Linked DNA regions of Homo sapiens: region 1 is linked to region 2. Evidence: promoter capture Hi-C in 16 types of primary human blood cells and fetal thymus (Javierre and others, 2016). All regions are on one chromosome and are shown on one strand. Each heading gives the region's core, a stretch centred on a gene start or on the middle of the fragment in contact. The rest is flanking DNA. Distances are from core to core; before and after follow the strand shown. Region 1 holds the start of OR5AU1 (olfactory receptor family 5 subfamily AU member 1). Region 2 holds the start of SLC39A2 (solute carrier family 39 member 2).

The links. The method cuts DNA at HindIII sites, captures the fragments that hold promoters and counts their contacts. A CHiCAGO score of 5 or more calls a contact.
Region 1: a fragment that was not itself captured here is called in contact with the fragment with the promoter of SLC39A2 in region 2 in 1 of 17 cell types (M2 macrophages); the score reaches 5.9 in M2 macrophages.

The regions. Positions count from the first base shown.
Region 1 is chr14:21,153,002-21,159,073 of GRCh38, forward strand. OR5AU1 (olfactory receptor family 5 subfamily AU member 1) reads right to left here and starts at 3,062. Exons shown (of 1, transcript NM_001004731.3): 1 at 1,864-3,062. The coding sequence starts at 2,871. The coding sequence ends at 1,936. The HindIII fragment of the contact is 340 bases long and covers 3,238-3,577 here.
Region 2 is chr14:20,997,555-21,003,452 of GRCh38, forward strand. It overlaps SLC39A2 (solute carrier family 39 member 2), which reads left to right and starts at 1,739. Exons shown (of 4, transcript NM_014579.4): 1 at 1,739-2,007; 2 at 2,188-2,318; 3 at 2,562-2,612; 4 at 3,393-4,317. The coding sequence starts at 1,893. The coding sequence ends at 4,025. It overlaps LOC101929718 (a long non-coding RNA gene), which reads right to left and starts at 1,609. Exons shown (of 4, transcript NR_110139.1): 1 at 1,220-1,609; 2 at 126-260. RefSeq lists an enhancer at 1,798-2,997. The HindIII fragment of the contact is 5,548 bases long and covers 523-5,898 here.

The DNA of each region.
Region 1 (6,072 bases), core at 2,158-4,657, 160 kb after region 2:
AAGGATTATATTGAATCTATAGAACAGTTTGGGAAGTATTGCCATGTTAATGATATTGATTATTCCAATCCATGAATATTGAAGGTCTCTCCATTTATTTAGATCTTCTCTAACTTTTCTCAGGAACGTTTTATGATTTCCAGTATATGGAAATGACAACATTTTTGTGAAAGAATTGTTTTCTTAATTTCATTTTTGGATTGTTTCTTGCCAATATATAAAAATATAATTAATTTTTCTATATTTTTTATATGCTGTAATTTTACTGAACTTGGTTATTAGTTCCAGTGGAGTTTTTTAATAGATTACTTGGAACTTTCTATATTCAGGATCATGTTATCTACAAATAAACTCAATTTTTCTTCTCCCTTTCCAATCTAGATGCTTTGTTTGTTTTAATGTACTTGCTACAATCTTCAGAACAATTTTAAATAGAGATGGCAATAGCAGAAAACTTGCCTTGCTTCAAATCTTAAGGGGAAAGCATTATTTCACTAGTAAGTATAATGTTGGGTGTAGATTTTTCATAAATGCCCAGATATTAGGAAATTTTAAAAAAATCCACTCATGGATTAAAGAATAAATGATAATAAAAATTAGAATATACACAGAACTTAATACTAAAAACACCATATTTCAAAACATATGGGATGCAGGCTAAATAGAATTTGAAAAAATTTGTCTTAAATGCCTATATTTAAAAAGAAGACAGCCAGTGCGGTGGCTCATGCCTGTAATCCCTGCATTTTGGGAGGCCGAAGTGGGCAGATCACCTGAGGTCAGGAGTTCAAGACCAGCCTGACCAACATGGAGAAACCCCATCTCTACTAAAAATACAAAATTAGCCAGACATGGTGGCTCATACCTGTAGTCCCAGCTACTTGGGAGGCTGAGGCAGGAGAATCGCTTGAACCTGGGAGGCAGAGGTTGTGGTGAGCCGAGATCACACCATTGCACTCCAACCTGGGCAACAAGAGCAAAACTCTGCCTCAAAAAAAAAAAGAAGAAGAAGAAAAAGAAGAAGAATGACAGGCCAGCATGGTGGCTCATGCCTGTAAACCCAGCACTTCGGGAGGCCAAGGTGGGAGAATCACTTGAGCTCAAGAGTGCAAGACCAGCCTGGGCAACATAGGGAGACCCCATCTCTACAGAAATTAAAAATAGCCCTCTGAAGATGAGTCTTATTTAGGGCATTTGGCTTTGTAGATGAAACTCTGTCATAGAGAGGGTCTTCTCTCCTTGGTTGGCTGGTTGGTTAGCTGACAAGCATTACCTGAGCAGCAATGGAAAATATAAGAGCAATATCCACAATTTGGTCTTGGGGATCTTAAAAATTCTAAGTAATGAAACAGTCACTCACCAAATATATATTCATAGTTTTCCATTTGCTTAGCTCTGTGTTCTCCCTATCAGGAATTTAGCCAGGTGTGGTGGCATGCACCTGTAGTCCCAGCTACTCAGGAGGCTGAGGCAGGAGGATCGCTTGAGGCCAGGAGGTTGAGGCTGCAATGAGCAATGTTCATGCCACTGTGCTCCAGCCTCGGGGGTGGAGAGAGAGAGAGAGACAGAGAGAGAGAGAAAGGAAAGAAGGAAAGAAGGAAGGAAGGAAGGAAGAAAGGGAGGTGGGGAGGGAGGGAGGGAGGGTGGGAAAGGAAAGGAAATACACTAACTGGGAAAAATGAATGAAGCATCTCAACATGGATTACTAAATCTTGCCAACAGGTTGAATTATGCAACAAGCAGACACACCCTTCTCACTTCTTAGTCTCTAGGACACCATCATTTCTTCTGTGGCAGGTAGATGCAGAAGCACCTGCAGACCAGAGGGCATGCCCAATATTCACAGGGGTGGGCATGGGAATGTGCTCAGGGTGACACCACCTAAGGTAAAAGTTCCCTTGACTTTCTAAAGATATGTGGTAATGCATTGAGAAATCATTCCATTGTTTTCCTACCCCAAACCTTTATTAAAGCTTTCTTCACATCCTTGTTTCTCAAAGAGTACATGAGGGGGTTCAGCACTGGGATCACCACTGTGTAGATGACAGCAACTGTGCGGTCCTGGGTCAAGGAGTAGCTGGACCTGGGGCGCAGGTACATAAAAAGTGTTGTGCCAAAGAAGAGGCAGATGGCAGTGAGGTGGGATGCACAGGTGGAAAATGCCTTAAACCTGCCCTGGGCCGAGCTCATTTTCAGGATGGTGTTGAGAATTAAGAAGTAGGAGATCAAGATGGTGAGGGTGCAGCTCAAAAGGTTGAAACCAGCAAAAATGAAGAGCAGGATCTCACACAGTGAGGTGTCTACACAAGACAAGGACAGGATGGGTGGCCCATCACAGAAGAAGTGAGTGACGACATGAGCACCGCAGAATTTCAGACTAAAGATACAGCCAGTGTGGATAAGAGAATTGAGGAATCCTGCACTGTAGGAGCCCACAATCAGCGAGGCACAGACCTCAGGAGACATGATGGTTGAGTAGAGCAGGGGGTTACAAATAGCGGCATAGCGGTCATAGGCCATGGCAGCGATGAGATAGCACTCACTGGTGGCAAAACCCGCATAGAAGAACATCTGAGTCATGCAGCCAAAATAAGAGATCACTTTCCTCTTGGCCAAGAAGTTCACCAGGGTCTGGGGCACAACCGTGGAGGAGTAGCAGAAATCCAAGAAGGAGAGGCTCTTCAGGAGGGAGTACATGGGTGTGTGCAGGGTGGCACTCACATGGATCAGGAGGAACATGACCAGGTTCCCCAGCAGAGTGGCTGTGTACATGCCCAGGAACACCACGAAGAGCAGCCTCTGGAGCTGGGGGTCAGTGGTGAGGCCCAAGAGCTCAAACTCCATCCCTTGGCTCAGGTTTGCCCCTTTCATCCTTCTCCAGTGCTCTGCGATGGAGAAAGAAGGCACCACCATAAATGAGGTTGAACACCTGGGGCTCTGACTGGGTTTAATTCTGCCTAAGGACAGCCTTCTGAAGATGAGTCTTATTGAGGGCATTTGGCTTTGCAGATGAAACTCTGTCATAGAGAGGATCTTTTCTCCTTGGTTGGTTGGTTAGTTGGTAAGCATTACTTAAGCAGCAATGGAAAATATAAGAGAAATATCTACAATTGGTCTTGGGGATCTTAAAAATTCTAAGTAATGAAACAGTCACTCACCAAGTATATATTCATAGTTTTCCATTTGCTTAGCTCTGTGTTCTCCCTATCAGGAATTCAAGAGTGCCTGACCTTGGGAAGCTTATATTCTACAGACAGTATATTTTGTGTTTAAGCCACACATACTGTGGTATCAGACTGCTAAGGTTCAAAGTTAGGACTTTGCCATTAACTAGCTGTGTAATCTTGGGAATGTTACTTTACCTTTCTGAGTTTCCATTTTTCCATCTGTGAAATAGGGATAATAGCAACTGTCTATAAAGATTATTATAAAAATTCAATGAGTTATTTCATGCAGAGAAGTTGAACAAATTCCAGCACGTTGAGGAAGTTCAAAGAAGGTTAGCTATGAGCATGCTCACTAAGAAGATAGATCCAAAACCTAAATAAACATGATAAATGAGATGAACCCACAACAAAGCTTAGCAAGCAACCTACCACCTAACAGTATAGACAGAGACACACGTGCTATGCAAGCGTGACTAAACAGGCTTTCAGAGAGGCTGTAGATGGCTGATGGGTCAGCTATAAAACTGGCCCTGTGAAATCAGCACTACCCAGGCAATAATGTGAATACTTAAGGTAACAAGGGCTGAGAGTGTGGAGAGATGGAGGTAGTGTAAGACTGCATGTGGGAGCCTCCACCAACGGGAGAGTCTCCTCATCATCCATAAAGCTGCCCATCATTTCCAGAGAACAAAATCACCCTGGACTCAGAGGATGTTATGGCCAGTAGGAAAGGAACGAAGTGAGTGAGTCTTTGTGAAAATGCCTTTTCTATTTAGAGAGTGAACAAAGCTTGAATGCATCACCTAAACACCACACTCTCCTCTGTTCCATTGGCTCCTCTACCACGTGTCTTCCCAAGTTACCTCTGGGTGCTGAGCCAGTTAAGCACCCTGTGCTCTTGGGTGAAGACTCTCAGTTACAAAGACTTTGAAGCTAACAGATGTGGCTGAGTAGGACAAAAAGGGGCAAAAGTGAGCTGCCTCATCCTGCCCTGAGGAGAGTAAGCGAATAACACACCTGTGAAAAGTGTTGGGAGAATTTGGAGAGGAAAGAGCTGGATTGAGCAAGCAAACATTCTGACGAATTCCAATGACATAATTTCCAGAATCATCAAACTACCTGGGCAGGAGAAGATTCTGGACATATGTATAACTAAATTTAGTTGTCAGGCAGGGAATGAGGCACCATTTGTGTTGATAGAATACTGTGACTGGTGACAAGAAAAAGGCTTTTAGAAATGCCCAAAGAGGTAACATGCCCTAATAAAATTGAGACACAAAATATAAGTGCAAATTTGAACACAGAACATTAGCAACTGCTTTTAGAACTCATGGAATGCAATTCTGTGACTTATTTCATGTCACTTAGATGTAACATTCAGCTATCCTTACTCTAACAGCTGTCATTTTATAATAAATCTCACTATTGTAGAATGTGGGCAGTCCTAGATTTGGGTTGCAAATGTCTTTGGCGCCATTGGTGACAAAGGCCAATTCGACTTCAAGGCAAATTAGAGGAATTCAGATAAATGACTGTAAAACTCCCAGAGTGGAAATAACTTGCAGGCACTTTAAGAAAATAGAAAGGTGGTCATTAGGAGTGGAGTAGAATTTTCAGACCCAGCTTCCCATCTTCTTTCCTTGGTGGGCTGTTTCAATTTAGGTAATAGGTCTGCAAGTATCTCTCTGATTAAAAGAACAAAAGAAGAGAAAAATAGAAATATGTGCAATGCTCCAGACAGTATGGATGAGGCAGGAAGCATACACTGGGGTGGAGTGGTGGGATGGGATGGGGTAGGGTGGTGGGTAATACAGTGGATAGCTGATCAGAGCCTCCAGATTTATCATTTACTTTAAACCCACACTCTCTCTTCTGCTCCCCTCTCCTCTTTCATCTCTCTTCACCAATCTGCACTAAATTCAAAATTCTTAAGAATATAGAGTGACTCAAGGAAAGGATTATGGAGAAATTGGCATCTCTGACAGTTGTTCAAAGGATGCTGGAATTACCACTATTTCTATTGGCTATTGTTTGTACCTGTGAATGAAATGTAGGAGGAAAACTTAAAGATGATCTTATCATATGGGAGTGGATTATGGAGTGGAGTGCATAAGAGTGAGAGCAAATGCCTGGGGCCTGTGGATGAGGGAGGCATAGGAAAGAAGCTCTGTTTATACCCGACTCATTGCCCCCATCCCTGGGATAGCACAGTGAGAGCACATGTGGATATGAAGGGCAGGCAGCCAAGAAAAGCAGCCAGTGAGATTCCCTGAGCAACAGTGATCCCAAACAATGGTTCTTAAACAGTAAGCTGCCTTGCCCAAGGTTCACAGGAGAAGCTTGTTACATGTGCAGATTCCAGGTCCCAACCCACAGAAAATTTGATCCAATAGGTCTATAGCTTGGCCCCAAAGTCTGGTGATTCTGACTGAGACAGGAGGTCTCTGAACCTCACTCTGAGAAACACTAAACCATGGGGTACTTGCAGGAGCAAACAGATCTTCCTGAGCCACATATACGTATCTCTTCCTAGCTTGCTGGATTTGTCCGTGTCCTGGGAAATCAGCCTGTGGGTAGGATGGTCATCCTGGACATGCTCTTCCCTCCAGAAGACCTATCTGTGGTTAACCATTTCCGGAAATCTGGGTTACTACCTGATGATAATCTAACACCAGAGCATTTCTTCCTTCAAAGTAGCTTCAGATGTCCTTCAGCAAACCATGTAATTCCAGCAAAGCACCTGGCTTGATGTCAGAGCTGTTGCTGTAGGGGTCAGAACACAAGTCTTCCATGGAAACACAGCAAAGACAAAGCCAGACTCTGCATTCATAGACTGAGTCTGGGGATCAGAGCCTGTCACCGACTTTAGTCTTTCACGTTGTCAGAGGTGTGAGGCAGCCCCACT
Region 2 (5,898 bases), core at 489-2,988:
CCCTTTAAAGCCCCACCTATACTTTCTCTACCTCAGATCTAGCTGAGTGATAAAAGCATTCCTGCACATACAACCCATCCCAGGACCAACTTAAGATTAAGAAACTTCTGTCTGCAAGTACTCACTCACTATGGTGGGATCAGCTGCAAAGCGAACTGTCCCATGCTCATGTTGATGGTTTTCTAGATACTGCCAACATGTTAGCTCTTTCTGGTGCCGATGAATTTCAAACGCGAACAGACACCCTTGATGTGGGTTTGCTAAGAAAATAGAAGAACAGGAAGAAAAGTTGCCAGGTTCAGACATCCCAGGGAAAAAGAAGCGTAAACAGCATTAGCAATCAGTGACTGATGATAATGCTGCAATAATGGGAATGGTTTTATTTCTAAATCAAATCGTTTATTGCTTTGTTTCTAAAAAACAAAAAAAAAACTTCTACCTGCAGACCCCTAGTTTAGATTAATTAGGAAACATTCCCGCAGGTAGTCATAGAGCTTGAATTGTATATAAAAGCTAAAGAAAAGCTTGTAACTTTGAGTTGGTCTGGTGTGCTACTCCGACCTCCCTGTAATCAGTTGCAGAAATAAACTCCCGTCTTTCCCAGTCTGTCTGTCTGCATCTCATTACCGGACCACAAGAACAAGCAGCAGGACCAGTAACACTGTAAGAATCATCCAGTAACACTGTAAGAATACTGCTTCTACCAGAGGCCAGGACTTCCCTAGGAAAATAATCTGGAGTAGCAAGGAAAGCTGCCTCCAGAGCTCTGAGAACTGGCTCAACAGGTCTCAGGGTTGTTATGTGGGCCACCTGAATAGGGGAATCAGCAGCTGCCTGGCCTCTTGTACTAACGCCTTCCCTTCTGTCTTTCCCAGGGTCCCTCAGCTACCCTAGAGTATGTATGGGAAATGCCCCAGACATTTCCATCAAGAGTGATTCCCATCAGAACTGAATCTTCTACCCCCACCTCTCTATATCCAGGTAGAATCCTCCCATTCACTCAGTTCATTTCTGTTTTCCCCTAAGCCTTGCTGTTTCAGGGCTAGAGCAGCTTCCTTTGTCTTAAACCTTAAATGTCTTTTTTTCCACAGTTCTTACCAGGAAACAGGCACAGTTAGAAGTTGTAACAGTATAAATGTTGTAATACCAGACATCTCAACTCATTCCTCTCAAAACTGATCCCAATCAAAAGAGAAAGAAAAAAAACAAATCAACTTACCACTAGACATTTCCATGCCTGGAGCTATTTTTCTGGGGTTACAGGAAAGGGTAGTTCCCTCATGTGGGTACTAGTTCCCACAGAGTAGCACCAGCACCACCTCTCAGCCCCACCTCTTTACCTCCAGGTGGCCCCAAATCTCTGAAAGCGGGTGGTTCAAGTATCAGCATTGCAACCTATAAGACTTGGGATGAGGTGGAGAGGGTATGGAAGGCTTAGATCAAACGTCCTGAGTGAGACAGGACCAGATTGTCCCCAGTACAAAATAGCTGGGAAGCAGCTACCATAGACTTTCCTATTTTGGATTAGACCAACCCCAAGCACATGAACTAAGACTATCCGTAGCTCTTGGATTAGTCATGCCATTGAAGAGGAGGAGAAGACGCCACTGGGCTGTGCCTGGCAGGGAGTCTGGAGTTTCTGGTTTCCAAGCTCAGGAAGGCGTGAACCAGGGGAGGGGCCTCCATGCAGGGGGAGGGCTAGAAGCTGGGGCAGGATCTGTCAGCTCTGCAATGCTGCAGAAGCAGAAGCAACACAGAAAGAAGATACCAACAGCCTCCTGAAACTCACGAGAGTGGACACTCCAGTGTTGACCACCTAAGATACCACTCCTGCTCCAAAGATTACAGCTCCCTTGTCATTCTGACTCCTGGGCTTACCCTACACCCCAGAGATGGAGCAACTACTAGGAATAAAACTTGGCTGCCTGTTTGCCCTGTTGGCTCTCACTCTGGGCTGTGGCCTTACTCCCATCTGCTTCAAATGGTTCCAGATTGATGCAGCCAGAGGTATAGCCCTACCCCATCTTTGTTCCATAGCCTGAGTCTCACCTCAACCCTGTCCTGATACCTTGCTCTGATTCTCTCACCATCCCCAACCTTGGGATATTGAGTGCTGCCTGCTGCTCTTTACTCACCTTTGTCTGTCTCCTCAGTGTCAAGTGGGTTGTAACTTCTGCTTTTTATTAGGTCATCACCGGCTAGTCCTCAGACTCCTGGGCTGTATTTCTGCTGGTGTTTTCCTGGGAGCAGGGTTCATGCATATGACTGCTGAAGCCCTGGAGGAAATTGAATCACAGATTCAGAAGTTCATGGTGCAGGTGAGAGCAGAGATTTCAAGCCGCAGGTCTATGAGGCCAAAATGATAAACAGGACAAAGGGAAGAGAGCGGGAAAGTGATGGAGCCAAGGACATGGGTGGAACGACAAGGAAAATGACAGCTCTTGTGTGGGATGGTGAAAGCAAGTCAGATTAGGCTTTAAGGAAAACAGAATTGCTGAAGGGACAGCACAGGAAGCTGTGCTGCTCCATCCCACATCTAATTTCTGCTGCTTTCTTCTTAGAACAGATCAGCAAGTGAGAGAAATTCTTCTGGTGATGCTGATTCAGCTCATGTAAGTACCTCCCACCATCCCCTATCTGGAGAGTGAGGAGAACCAGAGAGGCCTTTCATATCCAGACCCTTTTGAGAGGAATACATGAGGAGTACCAAGAATCCCTTCTGCTCCCTAGCTCAGACATCGTAGAGGAAAAGAGGAGCAAATCCAATCCTTTTGAGTTTATAGAATGCCAGGGAAAGCCCTTGTTTTACTCTTTCATTCTTTCCCTGGATCCTCTGATATACCTCACATCATTTGCCCATGTTTTTAACTCTATTGAGATTCTGTCCCTTAGCCCCTCTGGCAGTCTTTTGTTGTTGTTGTTTTTCGTTTGTTTGTTGAGATGAAATCTCTCTGTCGCCCAGACTGGAGTACAGTGGCACAATCTCGGCTCACTGCAACCTCTGCCTTCCGAGTTCTAGTGATTTTCCTGCCTCAGCCTCCTGAGTAGCTGGGATTACAGGCACGTGCCACCACACCTGGCTAGTTTTTGTATTTTTAGTAGAGACGGGGTTTCATCATGTTGGCCAGGCTGGTCTCAATCTCCTGACCTCAAGTGATCTGCCCACTTCAGTCTCCCAAAGTGCTAGGATTACAGGCATGAGCCACTGTGTCCGGCCCACTCTGGCATTCTTGTTGTTGCATGGCCATGTCTACTCTTGGCTTCATTTCCCCTACCCTTTTTTGTGTTCTGTTACCACATTTTCTCATTCTCTTCAATCTCCCAATTCCATGTCCATCCAATGTATTGCCTACCCTTCCTTTCCATCTCACAGCCCTTCTTTTTGTTTCTAGATGGAGTATCCCTATGGAGAGCTCATCATCTCCCTGGGCTTCTTTTTTGTCTTCTTTTTGGAGTCGCTGGCATTGCAGTGCTGTCCTGGGGCTGCTGGAGGATCGACAGTGCAGGACGAAGAATGGGGTGGGGCTCATATCTTCGAACTCCACAGCCATGGACATTTACCCTCACCCTCAAAGGGTCCCCTCCGAGCCCTTGTCCTCTTGCTGTCACTCTCCTTTCACTCAGTGTTTGAAGGGCTAGCTGTGGGGCTGCAGCCGACAGTAGCAGCTACCGTGCAGCTCTGCCTTGCTGTCCTGGCTCATAAGGGGCTTGTGGTGTTTGGTGTAGGAATGCGGCTAGTGCATTTAGGTACCAGCTCACGATGGGCAGTGTTCTCCATACTATTATTAGCTCTCATGTCCCCCCTGGGCCTAGCCGTAGGGCTGGCTGTGACTGGAGGGGACTCTGAAGGAGGGCGGGGCTTAGCCCAGGCTGTGTTAGAGGGTGTGGCAGCTGGTACCTTCCTGTATGTCACCTTCCTAGAAATTCTTCCACGGGAGCTAGCTAGTCCTGAGGCCCCTCTAGCTAAGTGGAGCTGTGTAGCCGCTGGTTTTGCCTTCATGGCCTTTATTGCCTTGTGGGCCTGAGAGATTCCTGGCTTTTCTGATGGACCTATTTAGGACAACCTCTCTATCCCCAGGGAGACCTCCCAAATGGCTTTGACCCTCAGACATTTCTTTACTCAGACTAAATAGCATTCAGTAGGACTGGACTGGACCCCAGGTTTCCTTTACATGAGATCCCATTTCTCACCCTGGACTAAGACAAAGATATTTAGGTTGAGCAGCTATTAATTGGAGAATTGGTACAGAGACGCTCCAGATTTTATTCTTATCCCATTTATGCTACTGTGTGTAATAAAATGCCCATTTTACCCTCCTTCAGCCATTCTGGATTTCATTTCTCCTGGTTGCCTAGATGCTACCTGGCACAGGAAGTGGTGGAATGGGGAATGGGAAGGATGAGTGTTGAATGCAGTATTTTATTCTGGAATTAGGGCTCCTAGCCATCCTGTCAGTTGCAGCCACACCCCTAGACATGGCACCTTGCTAAAATTCCCCTCCCACCTTACCCACTGTAGTTGAGAAAATGAGCCAGTTCCCAGCATTTAAAAGGAAAGAAAGTTAAAAGCCAAAATGACGTGGATCGATTATGTTCCTACACTTACCATAACCACCCCATTCCCAGTACCCATTATCAGCCACCGATAACATGTCCAGGCTAAATGGAGATCAGGCAGAATGGAACCTATCTCCATTAGGTTCCTGTTTTTTCACACCGAGCCCTGTGTGGCCTCAGGGACACTATTGCTCTTCTTTGAGCTTCTATCTCCTTCCAGCTGCCTTGTGTTGAGGGATTAAAAAGCAGTGTGCTTGGAGAGGGAGAAAGGTGCTAGATATTAAAATAAATGCCTGGGATGATTACTTGGCTCTTGCAGGACTCACTGGCTTTTCTCCTGCCTGTCTTACCAATTGTCTTTCCATCTAAGTAACCCCTACAATGTGTTGTTTCTCTTAAAAACTGCTGAGGACAAATACGAAAGCAGGTTAGCTGGAATTGGTAGGAACAGGATGGCTATTGCATAGCCCCCAACTCATGAGGTGGAGGAATATCTCAAACTTAGTGGAGAAATGGGGAAAGAGAAAGTGTGCCCTGTGAGTTCAGTTACCCTCACAAGTTGGCCCTTTCTAGTATTTTCAGCATGGAAGCCCAAGTACCTTAACATGGACATTCATTCTTCTTCTCAGTCTCTGTCTCCTTTCCATCCTGTTCCCCTTCCTACAAAGTAAGAAATACAAGCCTCCTCATAAGCCCAGTTTACACACCCAGAGATCAGTGAGAAGGCCAGCTTCAGGCAAAAATGATACAGAGAGAGAGAGAGGGAGAGATGATAGATATGTCTAACGCAGGAAATCATTTCCCTAAAGCACCATAGTATTGTGTTTTCTTTCCATTTAGCGTTAAATGCAGTAACATGTAATACACTCAGAACAGTTGTCCAGTGTGTAGTAGTTTCTACTGTAATAGTTTCTACACTGAACAATGGCTATGTGCCAGGTACTATTGTGGCAGGCCAGGTTTCACTAACGCAGGCCTCCATCACATTTTCGTCTCACAGCCCTTCTTTTTGTTTCTAGATGGAGTATCCCTGTCACGGGCTTATTTTGTTTCCAGTCAAGCAAAACAAGGGGCTTATCTCCCTCACAGATCAGCATATGAGATATGCTTCAGATATGTTTGCCTGTCAGACCCATAAACACAACAAGATATGCCAGCTGCAATGGAAGAGAAGCCCTGTTTCAGTTCGTGGATTACAGACTGCAACTGGTTAGGTTAAATATTAAAAGCTAAAAAAAAAGCCGGTGCCTATACAAAGGCCGTCATGTAACAAAAGCCCATCAAGAGTTTTGATTAGGCCTTTCCTGGCAAAACTTAAAGCATGACAAAATAACGAAGGAA